Regions from separate parts of the Homo sapiens genome. Here all the other regions are linked to region 2. The links are contacts of gene promoters, found by promoter capture Hi-C in blood cells and fetal thymus (Javierre and others, 2016). All regions are on one chromosome and are shown on one strand. The core of a region is centred on a gene start or on the middle of the fragment in contact, and the rest is flanking DNA. Distances in the headings are between cores, read along the strand shown.

Region 1 (3,148 bases), core at 107-2,606, 2.9 Mb after region 2:
GTGGATAGATGATCTTTGCTGACAGGGCACTCTCCAATACTTTGACCCTGATGAAGTCCTATTCTTTTCTTTTATACTCACTCTTATTCTCCACCCTTTACCTCTCCCCGGCTATCTCCACCACACTATCAATCTCACTCACTCTCTCCTAGCCATTTCTAATCCTTCTTTAACAAACAGTTGCTGGCTTTGCATTTCGCTTTCCTCCAAAACCGCTGAGGCCTCGACTTACTCAATGCTGAAAAAGAAAGACTCCGTATATTTTTAAATGAAGAGTGTTGTTTTTACCTAAATCAACCTGGCCTGGTATATGACAACATAAAAAAAAAAAAAAAAAAACTCAAGGATAGAGCCCAAAAACTCACCAACCAAGCAAGTAATTATGCTGAACCCCTTTGGGCACTCTCTAATTGAATGTCCTGGGTCCTCCCAATTCTTAGTCCTTTAATACCTGTTTTTCTCCTTCTCTTATTCGGACCTTGTGTCTTCTGTTTAGTTTCTCAATTCATATAAAACCACATCCAGGCCATCACCAATCATTCTATGACAAATGCTCCTTCTAACAACCCCACAATATCACCCCTTACCCAAAAATCTTTCTTCAGTTTAATCTCTCCCACTCTAGGTTCCCAGGCCACCTCTAATCCCGCTCAAAGCAGCCCTGAGAAACATCACCCATTATCTCTTCATACCACCCCCAAAATTTTTTGCCGCCCCAACACTTCACCACTATTTTGTTTTATTTTTCTTATTAATATAAGAAGACAGGGATGTCAGGCCTCTGAGCCCAAACCCGCACGTACACATCCAGATGGCCTAAGGCAACTGAAGAATCACAAAAGAAGTGAAAATGGTCAGTTCCTGCCTTAACTGATGACATTATCTTGTGAAATTCCTTCTCCTGGACAATGAGTCTCAGAAGCTCCTCTCCGAGCACCTTGTGAACTCCGCCCCTGCCCGCCAGAGAACAACCCCTTTGACTGTAATTTTCCACTACCTACACAAATCCTATAAAACTGCCCCACCCCATCTCCCTTCGCTGACTCTCTTTTCAGACTCAGCCCACCTGCACCCAGGTGATTAAAAAGCTTTATTGCTCACACAAAGCCTGTTGACACATGGACGCGCATGACACATGCCCAGCTGATTTTTGTATTTTTAGTACAGATGGGATTTCACCATATTGGTCAGGCTGGTCTTGAACTTCTGACCTCAGGTGATCCACCCAAAGTGATGGTATTACAGGCATTAGCCACCATGTCCAGCCCAGAGTAAACATTTAATATGTCATTTTATCATTCTCCCATCCCCCCCAAAATAAAAGTAATAAATGAGAAAGTTATACACAAGAGCACAAGTGACCTGTTTAAGACTACAGATAATTAGGAGCAGAAAGGAGAGCAAAACCCACTAGCAGACCTCCCATTTAATGCTGCAGCAAACTCATGGTTCATAAACACCTGGTTGATCTGCTTTTCTGGAAATGAATATACTCACTTAGGTAGATAACAGTAATCATATTCCCATCAAAGTTAACATTAATTATTGTCAATAAATTGGAAAGACAGTTACAATGAATTTATATTAATTCTTTGAGGCATGGAATTATTTTTCCTATCTTCAGGAAAGCTTATATAAATAATTTTTATATAAGGCAGAAAGACAGCTGGCATAAGGGAAATTTGGTAGCTGGGAGAGATGTAATATATTAATAGACAGGTTTTATATAAGGTACTTTTTATATGAGGTACCATACTGGTACATCTTTTAGGAAAAAAAGATTTTAAATTATAAGTTTATATTTTATAGTTATCTTTTATCAGTAAAAGTATACTAATCACAAACATTCCAGATTTGAATTGCTTTTTAATAATTCATACAATGTACAACCCTATCAGACTTCAATGGGTGCATAAAATACTCTAAATTTGAGTTATTTTCTCATATTTTATGTACTAGCTTGTCTTAATCAAATTCATTTATTTTCTGGACCATGTACACCTTTGGGTTCTCCTCAAACCTAGAGTTGTGTCTAGAAAATATTAAGGTATTATCATTAAGCCCACATAAGCAGATGGGAAAGCTTTATCATAGGATGGCATCTATCTATCATTAATTGGTCTTCTGCTATGAGGCTGGTGCTGTACTGAGTGCTTTACACTTAGATAGTAAGAATATAAAGCACTTAGTACTTAGGCTTTATAGTAGCCCTTTGATGTAGGGACTATTACACCCATTTCACAGATGAAGTAACAGAGAAATAAGTAACTCACCTAATCTATTATGTGAAGTCAGGGGTGAAAACCCAGGTCCCTTTGACCCCAAAGACCAAATTATTAACAACCAAATGATATGTGCTCTGTTGGGCCAAGAATCAATGCATATTGCATGTCTCTCATGGCCATTTTGATCATGATAACCTGGACACCGATTGGTTTTTCTGAAGCAACTTGAGACTTAATAGAAGCCTCACCTCTCATCCTAGAGAAGCCACAAACTAGAGGCGATCTAAGTCAAGTAAATTGGTGCCACACTTGTCCATATACCTTGAATTGAACCAGATATGGCATGCAGGAAGTTGAGAAGGGATGCTGTTTACTCTTACTGTCCTCTCTGAATTCATCCACATGAGCTAGGGTGAGCAACTATGCTGTTACACCCAGGATCATCTCAGTTTTACCACTGAAAGTCCTGAATCCAAGGAAACCTGTCTATTGATGTGTTACCTCTCTCCCAGCTACCAAATTTACTTTATGCCAGCTGCCTTTCTGCATCCTAAATGTCGATTTTTTTTAAGGAAACATTAAGACTTTACTATATGATAAGCACCATACTAGGTACAAAGGATATCAAGGCCAAAAACAAAAAAAAATCCAAATTTTCCCACAGGTACTATCTGCCTGCCTGCTATAACATTCTTTCAAACAAATATCCATCCTTTCAAAAACTAGCCAAGATTAAGACCTGCCACCTGCCACTATACTCTATAAATACGAGGTCCCATCTGCCTGGTTCTTCCTCTGGTTGCCCCAGCAACTGCCTTATGTCCAATTGCCATTCCCACATGGTCTAGTCTAGTCACCCACTGGTCAAACTCATCCTACACTGACCATGGTTTCAGTACCCCTTTTTGGGATATATTCATCAT
Region 2 (3,008 bases), core at 391-2,890:
GTGATCCCAGCTACTGGAGAGGCTGATGCAGGAGAATCGCTTGATCTGGGAGGCAGAGGTTGCAGTGAGCCGAGATGATGCCACTGCGCTCTCCAGACTGGGTGACGGAGTGAGACTCTGTCTCAAAAACAAAACAAACTGGAAATCATTACAAGATCTGTTAAGAGTCCATTCCTATCCACCTTGACTATGTCTCTCAAGTATATTTTAATTTAAAATTTATCTGTTTTGAACAGTTTTAGGAAAATCAATTTAAAGTATTCTTCTCCATAACCCTCAAAAAGGGAGAACAGGTGGCAAGAATTTTCAAGGGCCTCAAAGATGAACTTACTGCCCAAGAGGCTTGTGTTTTAGAACCTCACAATTTGCACTTGCGCTTTTGTGGTATTTAGGAATTACAATATCCTAAAAAACGTAAACATTAAAAAGCATCATGATAAGGAGATATTGTTAAACAGGCATGATAATGGTATTGTGGTTGTGTTTTTAAAAAGTCCTCATTTGTTAGATACAGACAATTATTTACAAGTGAAATAAGATGTCTGGGATTCCTTTGAAATACGTACTTCAGCACACTCACAAACATGCACAAAGCGGGGTGGAGATAAAAGAAATGACTGGCCTTAAGTTGGTAACTCTTGAAGCTGGATGATGGGTATACATCATTACACCGTTCTATTTTAATGTATTTTGGAAACTTTCCATAATAAAAAGATAAAAAGCATTATCTTAAGATAGATATCACTCATTTTAAGCATGATTCTTTTGAGAGATTATCTTCAGATGCTTAATGAAAGATCTGATATAACAAAGTAAAATGTTTTTGCAAGTTTATGAAGGGTAGATATGAAAAAGTATTACAAATGAGAAAAATCAGTTAAAAGTGAACACTCACAAAACAAATATTTAGGGAATGCTAATATATATATATTCCAGCAGTGAAAACACCAAAGTGCAGCTGTAAACCTAAAACTCCAAACCAAATACAATTCAACTTCTTTCTAGCCACTGCGTATGCAAGATCATGATAGGCGCAGGTGTCTGGGGAGGCAGAGCATTTAACCATTACATTTTACAGTTAAAATCAATAGCCAGGAGAATGGGGGCAGGAACTTGGTGGCTGGGCAGACGCTCCAGGGGCAAACGCCTGGGATCGTGGCTTTGTCACTTACAGGATGGGACCTTTCCAAGCCTCAGTTCCTCCAGAGGGGATAACAGTACCTACCTTACAGGGTTGTTAGGAGATTTAATTATAAGAATGCATGCAAATAACAAGCAGCTCTTAACTGATAGGACCTGATGGTGTTACTGTTAAGGACGGAGATTTTTACAGCCTCCCGGGTGAGATAAGAACGCCAGCTGCTAGGAAAAAAAAAAAAAAGACTCAGCGCGGTCTCCGCCCGCCCGTCTCCAAGCCTGAGGCGCAGGCCTATGGGATGCACGGGCTTCTTTTAGGCGCCCGTTTCAGGCTCCAGTCCCACTCTCCGCTCAGCCTAGGGCCCAGCCTCTGGCCGTCGGAACCAGTAGAGACGGCGGTTCCTCGGGTCCAACCCCCGGGCAGGAATCTGCGGTGCGCCTGGAGAGAGAAGCATCCGCAACAACCTCCGCCTCAGCCAGGCCCGGGTTCCATCCGGGTTCTCCAGGGTGCTTCCCGCCCGCAAACTGGGAGAGGCGTCTCCCACACGCAGGCGCAGTAGCAAAGGGCTGTGGGATGGGCTGGCTGGCTTGAGTATTGAGCATGCGCGCTAGCCCTTCCCAATTTTTTTTTTAAGATTGTGTACGTGGAACAAGAAATCGTTTGTTTATTGTGTCTGCCAGAGAGGATGAACTGTACAATTTCAGGAATGGAAGGGGCTGTAAACTCCACATAGTTCTTTTTAACATGCAGAGCACTTAAACTTTTATATTGTGTCGGGCTTTGAGCTTGGAGATAAAACGCCTGATAATTGCCATGTTCCATGTGGAATAAATGAGAGAAAAAGAGAAGGAAGCTCATTGTAATTTCAGATTAGACATTTCAGCAGTGGAGGATGAGCTTCCATAGCTTGTGTACTGTTGCCTATGCAAGCTGATCCCACTTTCCGTAAGTGGGAGCATAGGGATGAATTTCCATGTCATCATCATATATCTGAAATATTTTTATTTTAAATTCTTTCAACAACATGATTTCAAAGAAATAAACCCATATTAGAGAGGTTTTAGAGAAAAATCCCAAGTAGAAACTAGGAAACGTTGTTGAAAGAAACCGGAATATAGCCCTTTCCTGTTTGGGGGTCTTTCCAGAATTCTTATAAACTTAATGAGTTTACTCATTTTTGTACAATCTTGTTAGAAGCATTCCATAAGACTAGTGTGTGTGAGGAGTGGTGGGGCGTCAACGAATGTGGGCCAGATACATCATTTTCAGGTGTTAAGGGTGAGCCTGGTAAATATTGACGGGCTGCTGAAGTTTTTTGTGGATGGAAGAAACTGCTAAAGACCAGCCTTGTTGGTCAAGAAATTAGGGCCTTCAATACTAGAGAAAGGGGTAGGCTTCAGAATCCCACAGCTAGCTTCATGTCCTGACTCCAACGGTTAGGATTTGTGCAGGTTACTTGGAGTTAATTCCATGTGCTTTTTGTAAAACTTACATATCATCCATTACCCCATGAAATTCTTTTGAGGAAGGAGATAACATTATGACAATTACAGTACATAATTCTCGCACTCAAAAGGCAGCTATTATTGAGATAATAAAATCAAAGCTCAATCTGAGTAATGTCCTAGGCATTATGTTTTTTTCTTTTTTTTTTTTTTTTTTTTTTGAGACAGGGTCTCATTCTGTTGCCCAGGCTGGAGAGCAGTGGCGCAATCTCAGCTCACTGTAACTTCTTGAACCGGGTTCAAGCAATTCTCATGCCTCAGCCTCCTGAGTAGCTGGGATTATAGGCGTGTGCCACCATGCCCAGCTAATTTTCGTATTTTTCATAGAGACAGGGCTCTGCTATGTTGGCCAGGCTGGCTAGGCA
Region 3 (3,203 bases), core at 393-2,892, 2.5 Mb before region 2:
TTACACTTAAGAGCCGCTACCATACTGAATCTAAGAGTGGCTCCAGGAAACACATTTTTCAGAGTACATTTCTTTTTCTGAAGTAAAACCTCACTGGGTATCAATATACACTAAAAGTCCTAGTCTTCCTGAGTCATGGTCTTATTTATTGCATAAAATATTTAAGTATAACATTTATTGATTACCACTTTTTAAGAAAATTTCCCTTTTCAGCCTAAATTGTCTACAGAGGATAATGGCTCCAAAATTTGTCTGCTATTGTAAAAACTAGTTCCAACTATTTTTCCTTGATGGAAATGCATTTCTCCAATAGCCATCAAAGGTGGAAAAAGTCTTACTCTAGCCAGGTCCCCTCATTTTACAGATAAGGAAGGCAAAGTCTGGAGATTCATGTGATTCTGCCTCAAATCATACATACAGCTAATTAAAAACGTAATGCCAGAATATGAACCAGATAGTTAAACCCCTAACCTTTCTCTCATAGAAGCCCTCATTCTATTGATCCATCTATCTGAATAGCCCTTAATCACGTCACTGCTTCTTCATTTGCAAGTTCCTTCATCATTTTATACCTCTGATAATCAGACCAACCATTCTATGGATGCACGTCTATTATGGCATTATAAGGTGCACAGTCTAACAGATCCACGGTTCTGTAAGATGCTTACATTTGGGGGGAAGAATTTCTTCTCTTCTTGCCAGTGAAAAGATGAAAATTAAAATCCCGAGTACTCATCAGTAAATCAACCTCATGTTCTAATCTTAATATGTGTCAGACACCCACAAAAGCCTTAAAAAGTCTTTGGTGACAACATTCTTCTATGTTCTTGAATAATTTGGTTCAAGTCTACATCCTAAATTGGGTAGTAAAAAGATAGATAATATTTTTCAACAATAGCTTTTCCTTTAGATAACTACTTACATGGCAAATTTAACCTAAAGCACGTGAAGATTAGTAACAAGTGTGATAAGCAAATATGAAAGGTACAACAATAGTAGGAATATTGCCTCGATTTCTGTCTTACGAACAATGTACAGCCTCTTCAAATTTTTGAGTACCACAAATTTGGTCCTCTAAGAGAACAAGGTGTTTCTTAATGGTTTTATTCTTCTGACCTCTGACTGAGAAATAAGGAGGCAGTGCCAGGCACGGTGATGCATGCCTGTAGTCCTGGCCACTTGGGAGGCTGAGGTGGGAGGATCACTTGAGCCCAGGAGTTGGAGGGTGCAGTGAGTTATGAACACACAAAAGAATGAGACCCCATCAAAAAAAAAAAAAAAAAAGGTAGCTTTTAGTCTTCTTTTGGCCTTTAAAAAACTATTTAAGTTGATATCCTAATCTTTACACAATATACTAAAAAAATGCCAATGAACCTAGATCTGGAAAAGATCTAGTTTATTTCATCTTCGGTAAGCAAAAGCAAAGAATATATAAATAGCTAAATAGTCCGAAATAAATAGCTGAAGCCTTAATAGCCAAATGAGTTGTTATAAAGGAAAATTATTAAAGCAAATCACTTTTCAAACTTGAAGCTTCTTTCTTAAAGAGGTTTATTTCACTCTAAATGCAAAACATTTGCTAGTTTCAAAAGTACACTAATATAAACATATTCTGTTAAGGGCTTTATATGCAATACAATCCCTTAACCCTTAAGCCTCACAACAACATTCTAAGGTAGGTATCGTTGCATTTTCATTTTGTACCAGAGAAAACTAGGGCACTGTGAGGATAAGTAACTTCCCCAAGGTTATAAAGCTTGAACCCAGCTTTGCAGGTTCTGAAACCTGTGCTCCTTAGGCACTCTATTGCCTTCTTGGTAGCACAGAAAATATAAAAATATGGTCAAGCTCTAAGTTCTATCTGATGTATCAGACAAGGCACTGGAAATTACTTTGTTTCCTGGTGTCAAGAAAACAGTTTGCTATCTATACTTCCTGATTTTAGGTTAGGTGGGTGGCACAAATCAACTGTTTTTCTCACCACACTTATTGCATAATCATTAAAGCCCCAAAGGAAGAGGACTGCTTAAATTCTTAAACTTTATTTCCTGCTGGCCTAGAAGACCTTACTTAACCACTGTTATACCTGATATACTCATTTTAAAAGTTAAGGTTTTCCTTGTGCAAGTAAGAGACTAAAGTTATTTCAGTCTTAAAGGAAATCAACTACGTACTGGTCGTTTTACCTGCTTTTAAAAGCAGATCAACAGGATATAAACCTGGGTTGTTTTTTTCCTTAAGAGGACATTTCTTAATGACCTCTTAATTTAATCGAATGGAACAAGTAGCACACCAAAAATGATGTGTAGTGGAAAAAGAAACAGAAGAAAAAATCGCAAGAAGTCATATAGTGATCTACTTTCACTAGTGTTAGAAAAGCAAAGGATGAGTGTCTTCTTGAGTAACTTCAGGCTGACCACAATAGCCACTTGTTACACTACTACCACCCACTCCAACACTTCAGGTTCATTAGGAATTAAGAGGAGGCAAGGAAGATAAAAGACACACCCCAACCAGGTCTAAGGTCTCTCCGTACTACACCTTGAGGGACACAGGGAACCAGTGCATTGTGCCCCCCACCCCCAAACCTTCCCTGCTCCCCAGGAGGCAAAGCCCACGGCCTGGGGCCAAGACAGTCCTCCGGCCAGGGCAGTGACCCAGCGCCAAACAACCCGCCCCTTATGACCAAAGCGTCGGCACCCAGGGGTTGGAATAGGGGAAGGGACGGGAAGGCCTGGAAAGGAGAGAAGGGTGGCCAAGAGGATGTTTTTTTTTAAAACGAGGGAGGGTCCCTCCCCAGCCTCGCCAGCGGGGATGAGGCCCGGGGCCGGGAAGGAGCGGGCCGCCGCCATGATGGGGCTGGCAGAGCCAGGGGGCGTGACGTGGGCAACCCCTAGCCCAAGGCCAGCTCCTTCTCCCCCTCCCCCCTCCCCCACGTGGGCCTCGGCCACAACTGCCCCCCGATACTCACGCTTTGTCCACCAGCTCGCGCACCTTCCACATGTTCAACATCGTGCCCCGCGCGGGACGGTCCGCCGCCTCCCTCTCCTGCTCCCCACGGACCCCGGAACACTTCCGTACCGGGGCAGTTCCAGGCCGGGGTCACCGCCGCCCGCCGCCTCGAACTCCCCCAGTCAGCTCCTTCCTTTGCCACAGCAGCGGCGCCGCCGGTGACACGTCGAGACGCGGCAGCACAGGCGCTG

The links. Contacts are between HindIII fragments. The CHiCAGO score rates a contact against its expected background, and 5 or more counts as called.
Region 1: a contact is called between a fragment that was not itself captured here and the fragment with the promoter of FAM200C in region 2, in 1 of 17 cell types (naive CD8 T cells). The highest score is 5.5, in naive CD8 T cells.
Region 3: a fragment that was not itself captured here is called in contact with the fragment with the promoter of FAM200C in region 2 in 1 of 17 cell types (neutrophils); the score reaches 5.6 in neutrophils.

What each region holds. Positions count from the first base shown.
Region 1 is chr5:163,339,452-163,342,599 of GRCh38, forward strand. The region is part of intron 1 of LOC105377700 (a long non-coding RNA gene); the gene reads right to left. Among named protein-coding and RNA genes, the nearest start is that of CCNG1, 97 kb to the right of the region's middle. The HindIII fragment of the contact is 541 bases long and covers 1,087-1,627 here.
Region 2 is chr5:160,398,414-160,401,421 of GRCh38, forward strand. FAM200C (family with sequence similarity 200 member C) reads right to left here and starts at 1,641. Exons shown (of 2, transcript NM_022090.5): 1 at 1,226-1,641. RefSeq lists enhancers at 1-282, 602-1,287, 1,181-1,330. The HindIII fragment of the contact is 7,568 bases long and covers 1-3,008 here.
Region 3 is chr5:157,855,959-157,859,161 of GRCh38, forward strand. CLINT1 (clathrin interactor 1) reads right to left here and starts at 3,187. Exons shown (of 12, transcript NM_014666.4): 1 at 2,972-3,187. The coding sequence starts at 3,012. RefSeq lists an enhancer at 2,817-3,203. The HindIII fragment of the contact is 223 bases long and covers 1,532-1,754 here.